Regions from separate parts of the Homo sapiens genome. Here region 1 is linked to region 2. Evidence: promoter capture Hi-C in human tissues and cell types (Jung and others, 2019). All regions are on one chromosome and are shown on one strand. The core of a region is centred on a gene start or on the middle of the fragment in contact, and the rest is flanking DNA. Distances in the headings are between cores, read along the strand shown. Region 1 overlaps NRG2 (neuregulin 2). Region 2 holds the start of NRG2 (neuregulin 2).

Region 1 (6,647 bases), core at 1,334-3,833, 43 kb before region 2:
ACAAGCTGAGGTCTATCACAGATGGACATGGTTCCCCTCTCCATGGAGCCTGGAACTAAGAGAGGGCCATGGGCCGGGTTTCCCGCTGGGGAGGAGCCAGCTGCCCTGAGGATTGCCCCTCTAGGTAAATTAGGAAGCTTTTGTTAAACACTTGCTCTGGCTAGACCTGGGCTCAGAGGAGTGGGGTACGTGGGGCCTGGGTCCTCCCTTCACAGAGTTATAATCTGGCTAGGAGTCCAAAGTGAGAGATAGAACAAGGAACAAAAATACCCTGTTTCTACATTGGTGGCAAGGGGTGGGAGTGGAGGTGTGGAGTCAAAAGTCAAAGACTCTAGATTGGAAGTCAGGAGGCCTTGGTTCTAGCTCTCTCTGTTACCAGTGAAAAATGACACCACCTTGGGTAAACCACTTAACTTCTTTGGGCCTCTAGTTTCTACTCTGGAAAGATGAAAGACCAATGCCAATACTCCCCACAGAAGAGCAGGTCAGAATATTGTTCTGAACAAAACCCCAGAGGGCTGGAAAAGTGCTTCTATTATGTTCAACATTTGTATATCCAGACCAACCCAAGGCCAAGAAAGTCCTGGAGGGCCGGCCACGTGACCATCTCAGGTATACTCAGGAAGCCTGTGTTCCCATCTACTGGCAATCAACCCCAGACCAAAGCCACACAAGATCTGCTCCAGTTCCAAACTGGGACCCAATCTAGCCATGGGACTGCAGGTGAAGATAGCCTGCCTCACGCCTTCTACTGTTCTCATTCCCTCAAATTCTCCAAGTTTGGTCTCTACTAGTGATGTGGAAAGAAGTACAGAACTCTAGTCACCAAAAGTAGAGAATCTCAATGCTCAAGAGGCCCAATGCTTGCTCCTGACGAGTCTGAAAAAATTATGAGCTTAGAATTATGAGTCAGAATGTTGTAATTGGCTAAAAACAAACAAACAAACACTATCTACCATCCAAGGGCAAAGAACCATACTGTTACTTGAAATATGGGTAAGACTAGAGAATTATAGGAATAGGGGAAGATAGGAAGAGGAGTTAAGACAAGAGAAAAAACTTGCTCAAATCAGTGAAACCAAGAAGCCTTCTAAATTTCCTAGATTATAGCAGAAGACTCTGAATCCTACATCACAAGCCCCTTGCCCCACCACCTCTTTCAGCACAGCTGTCCTATGCGAGTTCAGATCCACTTCCTGCTTGAAAGTCACACCTCAAACACACAACCCTCTAGGGACTTCACTGTCCTAAGGACGAGGCTCAGCCAGTGGGGGACAGAAGCTAGCTGGAGTTCCTCATCCTTCAAGCAGACAACTCCATGAGGCATTCTGTGTCGTTCTCCTGAAGTTCTGGTGGAATTAAGTCCCCACTGCACACAGTAGGAACCTTAATAATACACCCTAATAACAGTTTATCCTCTATTCCTGCCTCATTCCCCTTATGCCGTTTCCTCATTCCTGCTTCTTGCAATTACCTCTCAAACTATCTGCACCCAATTCTTGTATTAGATTCTGCTTTCTGGTGAATCTGACCCAAAATATCAGTAGAGAATCTGGTGTTTACAAACTGGTTGGAGGTTCTATGGTGACTTAGCATATTTTTTCAAGGGATGCCAAGTTGCTCTGAAAAGTTTTCTCTGTAATGCACCAGGCTCCTCAATAATCCACCAGGTCCAGTTATTCAACTCAGTGGCAAACCTGGCCTGCATTGCCCTATCCAGCAAGCCTCATGGAATGAGAGAAGGGACCAGACGTTCTCTGTTCGTACCTGGTAGCACTTTGGAATCATTGTTCAAGAAGAATGATTATAGTACAGCTTCAGTCTCATTTTCCCCACTGTGCAGTGTCCCATGCTGAGCTCCTCCAAACATCGGTCCCTCCTGGAAGAACAGTCTTTACAAGGAGCATCCTTTCACTTTTGAAAGAGGAGAATCACAGGAGAGAAATCCAAGGAGAATGACAGGAGGGAAATTATCCAGACTACATGGGAAATATACTCTGGGTGAGAACATTTCAGTGCTGAGGGTGGGTGCCCCAATCTATACCCACCCAGAGGGAACCTGGGGATATCTGACATGCATATGTGCCACACACAAACAGACACATGCCCAGGGGAAAACAAGCAGGAAGAAACATCAAACTATTAGCCAGAGCTCTCGCTAAGTGATGGGATGATGGGTTATTTTTATTCTTTTCTTTATACGCTCATGCATTTTCTACAATGAATGTGTAATACTCTTAGGTTTTTAATTATAAAAAAACAACATTTGTCTCTTCTACACTATGATATCCACAGAGCCCTAAAAATGACCTATAAACGCCCACAGATTCAGTTAATGAGGTAATCTGGGACAACAGCAGAATCTAGATCTTGAGTCTGGAGGTTCTCAGACAAGATATGTGGAAACACAAAATATTATTATCAGGCATTCTCTCCCTTATAATTTGGTCTTTCAGAGGAAGTGAAGCACAGAACTGCGAGTCAATTGCCTACACACCTCTGTGCTTGAACTCTGGCATTTAGCAGTACCACCCCTCCCTTCCTCGAGCTTTTGCACTACCCTTCCAGCTTCCCCTGCCGCAGAGGCATGGAGGACCAGGCTTAGCACTCTAGCCACTCCAAGGACTTAGGCATCCTGCCAAAGAGGGAGAGGACTGAAGGGCAGCAGTCGGTGAGCCAGGGAGCCCCTGAACCAAGCCAGTTGTTAAGTAGGCGTGAGAACCCATCAGCTGGAAACACCGAAGGCGGGCAGGCAGGCGGAATGATTCTGGGTGAAGGAACATTGTAAATGTTGTCACCCAAAATAGAGCTGAGCTGAACTTGGCTCTCAGGCATTGCATGCCTCCTTCCTGCACTCTGTCGGCTCTCTTCGGAGCTCTCGAAAATGTTCCCCAGGCACCACACCTCCTCCTGCTGCAGCCAGGATTGGCTTGGTCTGCACTATTGCTCTGGAAGCTGAAGGCAGTGGGCAGAGGAGCGGCCATAGATTCCTATAGGAACTTCCTAACTGCTCTCCCTAGCTTCAATCCATTCTAATCCATCTCTGTCAACGTCAGATGTGATGGTTTCAATCCCCTCTTCAAAAACGTCAGTGGCTTCTTACCACCTACAGAATGACATCAAACTGTAACATAGGACTCAACGTCCTTCTCGATCTCTCTGTGACCTACTTTGATAGCCTCGTCTTCTGCCTTTTCTCCACCCTCACGCCCCATGTTCTAGCTACATCAGACCTCTCAGAGTTCCCTGGATTTTCCAGACCCAGTTCAGAAGAGACCTGTGACACGAAGCCTGCTGCTGCAGGCCCTGCTACTGGACTCCTCTCCCTCTGATCTCCCATCGGTATCCATACCATTTATTAGCACTTGGCTCATCCAGTCGGGTAGAGCTTGTTTTCCTTTGTGTCCTCATAACTAGCCTAAAAAAGCTTGAAAGAAGAAATCGTGTATGGCATATTTGTTTGTCCCTAGTACCTACCACGGTGCCCCATACTTAAGCGTATTTAATACATACCTACAGCTTATGGTAGTGATACCATTAGTTTTTTCACACATGGTTATCTCATTACCCTAACCAAATTATAAGCAATTTGAAAATACAGATCATGTCTTAATTTATTTTTTATCCTCCAAAACATATAGCATTGTACCTTATATGCCTCAGGAAGCAATTGATAAATATATAGCCCAATTATAAAAGCAGATATAATTCATTCTACAAATAATTATTGAGTACCTGCTATTTGCCAAGCACTATTCTAAATACTAGAGATGTGAGCTGGGCTTGGTGGCTCATGTGTGTAATCCTAACACTTTGGCAGGGCAAGGTGGGAGGATCGCTTGAGGCCAGGAGTTCAAGACCAGCCTGGGAAAAATAGCAAGACCCTATCTCCACCAAAAAAAAAAAAAAATGGCCAGACATAGTGCCATGTACCTGCAGTCCTAGCTACTTGGGAGGCTGAGGCTGTAGGATCGTGTAAGCCCAAGAGTTTGAGGCTGCAATGAGCTATGATCCCACCACTGCACTCCAACCTTGGTGACAGAGTAAGACCCTGTCTCTAAAATAAGTAAATTTTAAAAATTAAAATAATTAAGGAGGCCAGGCATAGTGGCTCATGCCTGTAATCCCAGCACTTTGGAAGGCTAAGGTGGGAGGGTTCCTTGAGCCCACGAGTTTGAGACCAGCCTGGGCAACATAGGGAGACCCCTGTCTCTACAAAAAATAAAAATATTCGCCGGGCATGGTGGCATGAGCCTGTGGTCCCAGCTACTCAGGAGGCTGAGGCAGGAGGGTCACTTGAGCCTGGGAGGTCAAGGCTACAGTGAGCCATGATCATGCCACTGTACTCCAGCCTGGGTGGCAGAGAAAGAACCTGTCTCAAAAAATAATAAAGTAAATAAATAAATATTAGAGCTGTGACAGGGGAAAAAAAGACAAAATTTTTTGTCCTCTTGAAGTCTCCAATTCTAGTGGAAAGAGGTAAACATCATTTATAAGAAAAGTTGGTAAAATATGATGTCAGATAATGATAAGAGCTGAGGTGAAAAATAAAACAGAGTAGGGTTGGGAGGGTTATGGGGTTGCAATTTTAGATAGGATAGCTGGGAAATCCTCCTTGAAAAGGCAGAATTTGAAGGGGTGAAAGAAGTAAGGAAATGAGCCACACGGATTTTTAGGTTAAGCATATTCCAAGTAGAGTGAACAATAAATACCAAAAGCTGGAGACAGGAACATGTCTGACAGGTTCAGAAAATAACAGTAAGGGCCAAGTCGGAGAAAGCAGGAGAACTGAAGGGAGAACGTAGGAGCCGGAGTCAGAGAGGTCACAGACCAAAACATGCAAGTGAGCCTTCAGTCATCAACTCTGGGTGAGAAAGAAAGCTCTCTGAGGTTTACAGCAGGAGAATCACACGAGTTTTTTTTATTTGTCAGTCAGACTGCTGTGTTCAGAATAGACCGAAGAGGGGCAAGGGTGGAAGCAGAGAGACCAATTTGAAGGCTATTAAAACAACTAGGCAAGAGATAATGGTGTCTTGGACCAAGTGGATAATTGGGGAGGTGATGAGAACTAGTTGGATTCTGGATGTATTCTGAAGGTAGAATGTACAGGATTTGTAAAAGGATTAGATGTGGAGTGAAAGAAGAGGAGAATCCCAGATGGCTCCAAGATTTTTGACCTGAATAACTGGTCTTAACATTTTTTGAACTGGGGAAGATTACAAGAGACATCCAGGCAACTTTTTTTCCCATCAACTGACAAATTCTCCTTTTCAGCTACAGTGCCTGGCAACACAAGAGGTACTAAATGTGCTTCTTCATAAATTGACCAATATAGATCACTGATCAGAAAAACCATGCTCAAGACAAGCTGCTACTTCATCAGTGGGAGTCCTGACTAAAGAAATGCAAATAAAACAAGATGTAATTATACAGAGATAGAAAGAGATGAAGAGTGTGGTAGTCAGAACAGTGCCCCCCTCCCCCAATATGTTCATATCCTAATTTCTGGAACCTGTAAGTATTTTACCTAACAGGGCAAAAAGGAAATTGCAGATGTGATTAAATTAAGGATACTGGATTATGTGAGTGGCCCACTGTAATCACAAGTTTCCTTGTAAGAGGGAGGTAGGAGGATTAGAGTCAGAGAGACAGGGGTTGGAAGACACTACACTGCTGGTTTTGAAGGTGGAAAATGGAGCCAAGGAATGCAGGTGACCTCTAAGAGTTGGAAAAGGCAAGAAAACAAATTCTCCCATAGAGCCTCCAGAAGGAACACGGTCTTGCCAGCACCTTGATTTGAGCCCACTAAGACTGATTTTGGATTTCTGACCTCCAGAATTGTAAGATAATGAATCTGGGTTGCTTTAAGCCACTAAATTGTAGCCATTTGTTGTGGTAATTTTTTCAGCACTGTGGTTAAAAAGGGGAGTTTGTCACTAGAGTAAAAAATTCCCTGGATGCCATCTGTAGTCTTCTCCTAATTCAAAAAACAGCAAGACCAGTTGTTCAAGTCAAAAATCTTGAAACCATCCTGGATTCCTCCTTTCTTCTCTTACTCCACATCCAATTCTTTCACAAATCCTGTAAGTCCTACCTTCAACATACATCCAGAATCAACTTCACATCACCTCCCCAATTAGCTACTTGCCCAAGCCACCATTATCTCTTGCCTAGTTGTTTTAATGGCCTTTAAATAAACTAAGTAATTTTCTATGTTTGATAATTATACTGTGGTTCTGTAACATGTTAATATTAGGGAAAGTTGGGTGAGGAGTGTACAGGAACCTTCTGTATCATTTTTGCAAATTTTCTGTGAGTGCCAGTAGGAAACTAATACACACAAGTATGAAATAAACAGATCATATTTTAGAAAGAGCTATTGCTCTTGAGTAAAGACTTCATCAAGGAATGATATGTCTTATTAAGATTATTCTCTACTCTACCAATACAGTATTCTACAATTAATCAATGTAGAAGGTACTTGGGCAGAGGAAAACCACCGTCAGGCAAACACCACAAACAACTTTTGCAGATAAGACTTACCAATGGGTGCTAAAATTAGTGGCCAAAGTTGGAAGAGAAAAAGGATCTGCACAGTCTCAAAGTATGTCCTCCAAGATATTTTTTAAACTATAAAGGGTAAGATA
Region 2 (7,566 bases), core at 2,414-4,913:
TGATGCTCCTGAGGCCAATTTTTAAACACAATATTATCCCTCCATATTTTGCCCCCCTCCAAAAAAAAACCCACGGGCTTTCTAGGTGACTTCCCAGAGAACCACACCTCTCAGAACCTACACACACTCAGACCTGAAACTAGCTAAACAAAGCAACAATGCAACCTCAGTTGCTCAATGTAACGGCCATGACGACAGTTTCCAAGTGCCAGTTTCCCTATTTTGCAATGGGCAAATCTGCTCCAAGGAGAAAATGTTCCCAATGACCCTGTGGCCCAGAGGGCTTTCTTTAGAATAGAAAACAGAAAATGAATTTGTTAGTTATTTCCTGCTAAGCACAAGGACAGTGTTGTGGTTAGTTAGGATGATTTTGTTTCCTTATTTAATATAGCATTACCAGTACATGTTTTCTTTAACCACATAGTAGAAAACAAGAAAATGCAGTTTATGCTCTTCTGTTATATTATCACCAATTCCACAAGTCTCACAAATATGTCCTTTAATTTCTAATCCCCTTATATAAGGCTCCCCAAAATGGTACCTATTTATATACTTCCCTTTGAATATCAATTCAAAGCAATTTTTTTTTGCATTCTAAAATGTTTACTGCCATACACATTCCTGATCCTTGATAATTTGTGATATGTGAGGGCCCTTCCTTTACCAGTGATTGCAGTTCTAAATGTATCTTTTTAAGAACTATACTACACATGCTATTTTGATAATATGAGATGATCATAACCTAGAAACAGACCATATTTCTGCCCCTCAAATCTTTCATGATTTCTGCATTCAACTGTTAAGCTACTGAATACCCACTAGAACAAACAATGTGTAATTGATAAGGTGTATTGTGTTGGGGGAAGGAGAAAGTAGGAGGAGGGAGACAAGGGAGCAGAGAAGCCAGTTACTCTATGGGGTTATCTGACAAAGACCATCAAGTCCTCAGCGGCCCAGACTAGGGATTATGTGGAGATGTACACTGTGCAAATGCAGGAGCAACTCACCAACAACCAAACAGAAGCTGTCCTTGGACAAGATTCAATAAATATTTTTACTATCTATTTTCCACTGTACAATACTGTTTCACAGCTCCCCAAGGCATCTCAGAGTATTTTAATACTCCCCAAGTATCAAAATACTTAATAGAATAAAAAATTAGAAATTCTTAGCTGGTCTCTACTTGTCTTTATAAAACATTTCAGAACATAAAACCAATAATAAAAAGCAGTCAACAATATTCCTAAGGATAATGTCAGAGCGATAAACTGCTGTTATCCCCCAAAGTTTTCCCCTCCTTATTAAGACATTGCCAAGATTCTTCTCATTAAAGTGATCACAGTTTAACATAGTTAGTGTCTAGATATACTCCCATCACTAAACTCCTAAAATTTGCCTCCTGAAGGGGGTGGGGGAGGAAAGCTTCCAAAAATCATAGGTATCGATCTAGAAAGATGAAGGCAGCAAAACTTACTATAAGCTGTTACACATATTTTGCTACTCAAACAAAGCCTGTCTACACTACCCAGAATCAGTTGGTAAAACTGGTAAACATACCAACTTCTATGAGAGTACAGGACATCTATCATAATTCAGCGATTACACAGTCCAGCAAGTCATACCGCATGCCAACAAATTCAGCTTTAGTTGGGACAAAACGAAACCTCAATTTGAATAAGCACGAGACAGGCTTACACCAAATACTCCAGTGTGGGACAATTTGATTTGAAATATCTTACTAAGAAGTAAGTACTGGATTCAGGGACAAGAAGAAAAAGCTCTTAGACTGACATTTCTTTGACTTTTGACATGGGAGACTTCCATTCCCAGCTGCAGAGATCTACAGATTTCAGTGTTTTGTTTCTAATCACCTGCATTCCTGTGCAGCATCCAACATCATGAAGATGAGAGATGCAGTCAAATACATCCGGCGAGTAAGACGTTAGAGCTGAACTTAAAGCATTCAGCAGAAGTTACTCTCTTTCATCATCATCACAATCAACAGACCTTGTAATTCCCCCAGAAACAGCTAAAAAAAAAAAAAAAAAAAGGTGTCTGCTTGCTAGTCTTAAGAGAAGGATGTGCTACCTGCTTAGCAAAGACAGGCAATCACGATGAAGAAAAAAACTGGAGCCACATGGAGGACGGAAAACAGTAGCAGAAAAAGTCCAACTCTGCCTGCGCCAGCGGTGTGGATGAGCAGAGCAACGAGCCCAGGAGAGGAAGGAGGGGGCGGGGGCGACCATTCCCTAGGAGAACTTGTAAGCGGAGGCCTTCACAGCCTGGGAGTCTGCCCAGCTGCTCCCGCAGACCCTGCCAGCCTGGGCACGGCAGGCCCGCGGCAGCAGGGCAGGCAAGGCCTCCGAGGGTCACTCCTGACTCACTGAGCCTCAGGCCAGCACCGCCAGGACCTCTCCGTTTTTCCTTCCGCTACTGGGCTATGATGGCAGCTTTCCAGCCCCACATGCCATACATCAGCCGCAGATCCCCGCTGGCACAGGCCAGCGCCTCCCTCCGCCCCCCACCCCTGGCACACTTTGAGCCTGATCCTTCTTCTCTCCAACCCCAACCCCCTCACCCACCCGTGCCAGGCGCCCTGCCCAGGGGCGGCCCCACCCCCCCAGCGCCCGGACGCTGCCAGGCCCGGGCACCTGCAGCACCTCCCCGCCCCACCCCCATTCTCCACCACCTCGCCCCTCCCCCCTTTCTCCAGCAAAGGGAGGGGGCGACTCACCGCAGTCAGTGCACAGGATCTTGCCCACCTCTTTCTTGAGATTTTTGCCGTTGGTATCGAGGGGGGCAAAGGCCGTCTTAAAGACTAAGGGCTGTTCCGTGGGCTCCAGGAAAAAGATGTAGCGCTGGTTCCTTTCGAGCGGCACACAGGAGCCCACGCTGATCACCTGCTCGCGCTGCAGCCCCCCGCTCCGGAGCGGCCACTTGTCCAGCACCTTTACCAACGCCACCCGACCCGAGGCGGGCGGCTCTCGGGTGCTGTTGGAGCTGGAGCCGCCGGCTGGGACCAGCCCCTGTACCTTGCCCTCCACCACCACGGGTGCCTTGTACGCCTGGTCCTGCACTGACTTGAGGCTGGGCGAGTAGCAGGCGAGCGACACACCGAAGAGCAGCATGGAGAAGCCGGGGGCCGGGTCGCGCCTCATGCCGCCGGCGGCTGCGGCTCGCGAACGGGCGGCGGCTCTCCGGGCTGCGGGGCTGCGGGGCTGCGGCTGTTGCTGCGGCCGCGGCTCTGGGGGCGCAGCGGGACGAGAGATGCTGCTGTTGTTGCTGCTGCTCCTGCTGCTGCTGCCGCTCTCGCTGCTGCTGCTGCTGCTGCTGCTGCTCCTCTCGCTGCTGCTGCTGCTGCTGTCGCTGTAGCTGCTGCACCGACCCTTCTCCAGTGGCGGCGGCGGCAGCGCTGAGCAGCAAACCTGCCGCATCTGGCCAGGCCATTTGGGGGGCTCCGCCGCTCAGCCGCCGCCGCCTTGGGAGGGGAAACAGAGCCCGCTGGAAAACCGGAAACAGCGTAACGTTAGCGCCTCTTAGCCCTCCACCGGCAGCCCGGGGAGGTGGCCCAGCTAGGGCAGGGGGCAGGCGGCAAGCGGGCCGCGATGCGCAGCGCGGCGCAGCGCAGCGCTCCCACCCTGTGCGCCAGGACCTGGAGGAGGATGCGGAGGATGGGACGCCCGCCCACTTGCTCTCTCGCGCCCCCTCTGCCCCCGGACCGAGTAGGGAGCGCGGCTTCTGCAGGGGAAGCTTGGGACTGCACTGCTTTAGTGCCCGCCTTCAGCCCGCAGGGGCGCGGGAGGAATCGTGCCACCCTTTGCTCCCGGGATTTATCGGCATGACAGTGGGGGTGGTGCGTGAGGAGAAGGCGAAGAAGAGATAACGGGCTCCTGGCACCATCCTATGAACGTGGTAATGGGACGCAGGGCGTGCCCCCTGCCTTTGGCCAGCAGCTGTAGGAGCCAGAGAGGTTGCCATGGCCAGGGTGGCCGGCCAGCCTCTCGCCTCTTGGGCTGTCCTCTTTCCTAGGAGGACCCTGGAGCCCAGCCCCTAAATGATACCACGTGCTCGGTCCTGCCACCGCCTGGTGAACGCTGGATATTCGACTTGAGGTGGGGGAGAATCCCAGCCCCGTCATTTTGGAAAGAGTTGGGCCACAAGGTGTCTTGTCTTAGCATTGAGGACACCCAAGCAGAGGTGGTAGCTGAGAAAGGGCCCAGTCCCCAACACTCTGGGCTTTCTTCAGCGGCCACGTGGGGATCTGGCTGAGCACTGTACAACCTCATCTTTTAAAAATCTGATCTCTAAGAAAGGTGGGGGGCTTCTTGGGAGCCAACAGAGAGCCAGAGCCTGTCAGGGCCAGAGGCTGCTCCATAAAAAAGGTTTTTTTTGTTTTGTTTTGTTTTGTTTCCAAGGCTGATGCTTGCAAGAGGCAGAAGAGTTTGCTGCACTGGAGCCAGCATCTGATTTAAAACACACACACACACACACACACACACACACAGGTCCATAATCCATTAGCCTATCAATGAGGGTCCAGGGAGTTTTCAACACCCAGCTTTTAACCTTGAAGGATGTGGAGCTCAGGAATGCCAGTGAGCTCTTGGGGAATTTTATACCGCACTGGGCTCCACAGGAAACTGGTCCAAGGATGAGTGACTTAGGCTAGGACTGCTATTCTGGAAAGGAAGTAGAGAGAGCTACACCTTTCCTCCTAGCTAAGAGACATCTTAAACTCAATACATCCAAAGCCAACATCATTATTTCTTCCACTTCACTCCAAATCCCCTATAATTATTAATGCCACTGTTTTATTCTTTTAGACTACATCAATCCATTACAATAAGTCCCTTCATCTCATCTTTTATTCTTCCTCATCCAATTAATCACCAAGGCCTTTGGGTCTCTCTTTTAAAATAATCTCCAATTTATCTACTTCCACTCCAACTCTGCTGCAAATACCTTAAGTCCAAGCCCTCATCATCTCTCACCTGGACAACTTCTAAGCCTTCTAACTGGTCTCCACTCCTTTCACCTCATCACCTATCTCCAGTCCTACCAATGCCAGAGTGATCCTTCTAAAAATAAAATGTAAGTACAATTTGGCCATGCTACTGCTCTCAGAAGTTAAGTTCAAACTCCTCAGCAAGGCTCTTCATGGGCTCCCTTTGCCTAGCCAGCTTCATATCCTGAGAGCCAACCCCCCACTCTAGCAATCCTCAGCACTTCATGCTCTTTCTTGGTGTGCTTCTGCACATGATGTCTCTTGTGTCCAGAAAGCCTCACCTCCACCTTGACCACATGGAAAACTTATTTTCCCAAGGCCCAGCTCAGCATTATACCGCATCCCCCTTCCTACATATCCACCTCTACTCCCACCAACACATACATGATGGAATTAATCCCTTCCTCCTCTGTATTGCCATGAGCTTCACACATAGTATTACTGTTGGGATACTGGCCCATACCGTATTTCAAGCAGCCATTTAATGGGTCTGCATCTCCCATCAGGCCAGGCACGTTAATGTCAGGGACTATATATATCCTATTCATCTTTGGATTCCTATTACCTCCAACACAATGCCTGGCATAAAATAAGGATTAGCAAATCTCCAGTGAAAGAAGGAGAGAAGGAAGAAAATAACTGAAAATCGGCACGCTTAAAGGCATCAAGCCAATCTTCTTGGCTCCTTCAGTGTCCCCCATTTCATTTTCATAGATCACAGACCTCATAAATCACAAAACATCACCATAAGGAAGATAGCGACATCCACTCTTTCATTTTACAATGAAAGAAAAAGTCCCAGAGGGGATAGGGGACTTACTCAACATTTCACACAGCCAGGACTGAACTCAGTCTTCTGTTCCTGAGACCAGGGTCATAGTGAAGAGCTTGTGCTCTGGAGCCCAGCAGAGCTGGGTTTTAAAGCAACTCTGTGACTTACCAACTTTGGGATGAGTCTATTTCACTCTCTAGGCCTTAGTTTCCTTATCAGTATGAAGGAGAAAATAATAGGGTCTACTTCGTAAAGCTGTTTTTTGCTCAGTATGTACTTTCAATAAATATTCAATTGAATGGCTCCTCTGTGCCAAGCACTGAGGCACTGTATGTTACTGGATGTACTGTGGTGAACCAAACTGTTCAATAGTACATGTCTGTGCTCTCAAAGCTCATACTCTGACTGGGAAGACAACAGTAAATAAGTACACAAATGGGTAACTAATTACTTGTATTGCTGAGTGTCCTGAAGGAAATAAACAGGATGAAATGCTAGAGAATAATGGAAAGGGGAGAGGATAGGTCTACTTGGATAAGGGAAGGCTTCTCTGAGGAGATAACATTTAAGCTGAGACTAGAAGGATGATGAGGATGTGGATTATGTGAGATAATATGTAAAGTGCTTAGAACAATGTCTGGTGCACAGTAAGGGCCAAAATTAAAGTTGAAGATTACTAATATTTTACTTATACTGGTGGTTCCCAATCTAAGAGCTGAGAATCTCTAAGTGGTATTTATTTTCTGTATATTAAAAATATTCACTAGGATTTTCTGTATATTAAAAAATGCGGCTGGGTGCAGTGGCTCATGCCTGTAATCTTAGCACTTTGGTAGGCTGAGTGGGGTGGATCACTTGAGGTCAGGAGTTCAAGACTAACCTGGCCAACATGGTGAAACCCCATCTTTACTACTACCAAAAAAAAAATTAGCCAGGCGTGGTGGCGCTCCCCTATAATCCCAGCTACTTGGGAGGCTGACACAGGAGAAATGCTAGAACCCAGGAGGCAGAGGTTGCAGTGAGCCTCATGACACTACACTCCAGCCTGGGCAACAGAGCACTGTCTCAAAAAAAAAAAAAAAAAAAAGGCGATACAATTTTTCAACAGCACATGTCATGAAGAATAAAAATATTATTTTCCCCTCTCTCTCTTATTTTTTTTTTTTTGAGACAGAGTTTTGGTCTTGTTGCCCATGCTGGAGTGCAATGGTGTGATCTTGGCTCACTGCAACCTCCACCTCCCGGGTTCAAGTGATTATCCTGCCTCAGCCTCCCAAGTAGCTGGGATTACAGGTGCCTGCCACCACGCCTGGCTAATTTTTTGTATTTTTAGTAGAGACGGGGTTTCTCCATGTTGGTCAGGCTGGTCTTGAACTCCCGACCTCAGGTGATCTGCCTGCCTTGGCCTCCCAAAGTGCTGGGATTATAGGTGTGAGCCATTGAGCCCGGCCTCTTTTTTTTTTTTTTTTTTTTCTTTGAGACAGAGTCTCCGTCCCCTAGGCTGGAGTGCGGTGGTGTGATCTCAGCTCACTGCAACTTCTGCCTCCCAGGTTTAAGCAATTCTCCTGCCTCAGCCTCCCGAGTAGCTGGGACTACAGGCACGCACTACCACGCCTGGCTAATTTTTGTATTTTTAGTAGAGACTGGGTTTCGCCACGTTGGCCAGAGCAGCCTCGAACTCCTGACTTCAGGTGATCTGCCTGCCTCAGCCTCCCAAAGTGCCGGGATTACAGGCGTGAGCCACGACGCCCGGACTCTCTTTTTCTTTTGAGACACGATCTGGCTCTGT

What was found. The method cuts DNA at HindIII sites, captures the fragments that hold promoters and counts their contacts. A contact is called where the count stands out against the background at its distance.
Region 1: a fragment that was not itself captured here is called in contact with the fragment with the promoter of NRG2 in region 2 in 1 of the 25 tissues and cell types used here (heart right ventricle).

What each region holds. Positions count from the first base shown.
Region 1 is chr5:139,997,805-140,004,451 of GRCh38, forward strand. All of the region lies in intron 1 of NRG2 (neuregulin 2), which reads right to left. Among named protein-coding and RNA genes, the nearest start is that of NRG2, 42 kb to the right of the region's middle. The HindIII fragment of the contact is 5,645 bases long and covers 1-5,406 here.
Region 2 is chr5:140,039,636-140,047,201 of GRCh38, forward strand. It overlaps NRG2 (neuregulin 2), which reads right to left and starts at 3,664. Exons shown (of 10, transcript NM_004883.3): 1 at 2,735-3,664. The coding sequence starts at 3,434. RefSeq lists enhancers at 1,567-1,756, 3,129-3,798 and silencers at 3,097-3,306, 3,467-3,806. The HindIII fragment of the contact is 7,156 bases long and covers 1-6,220 here.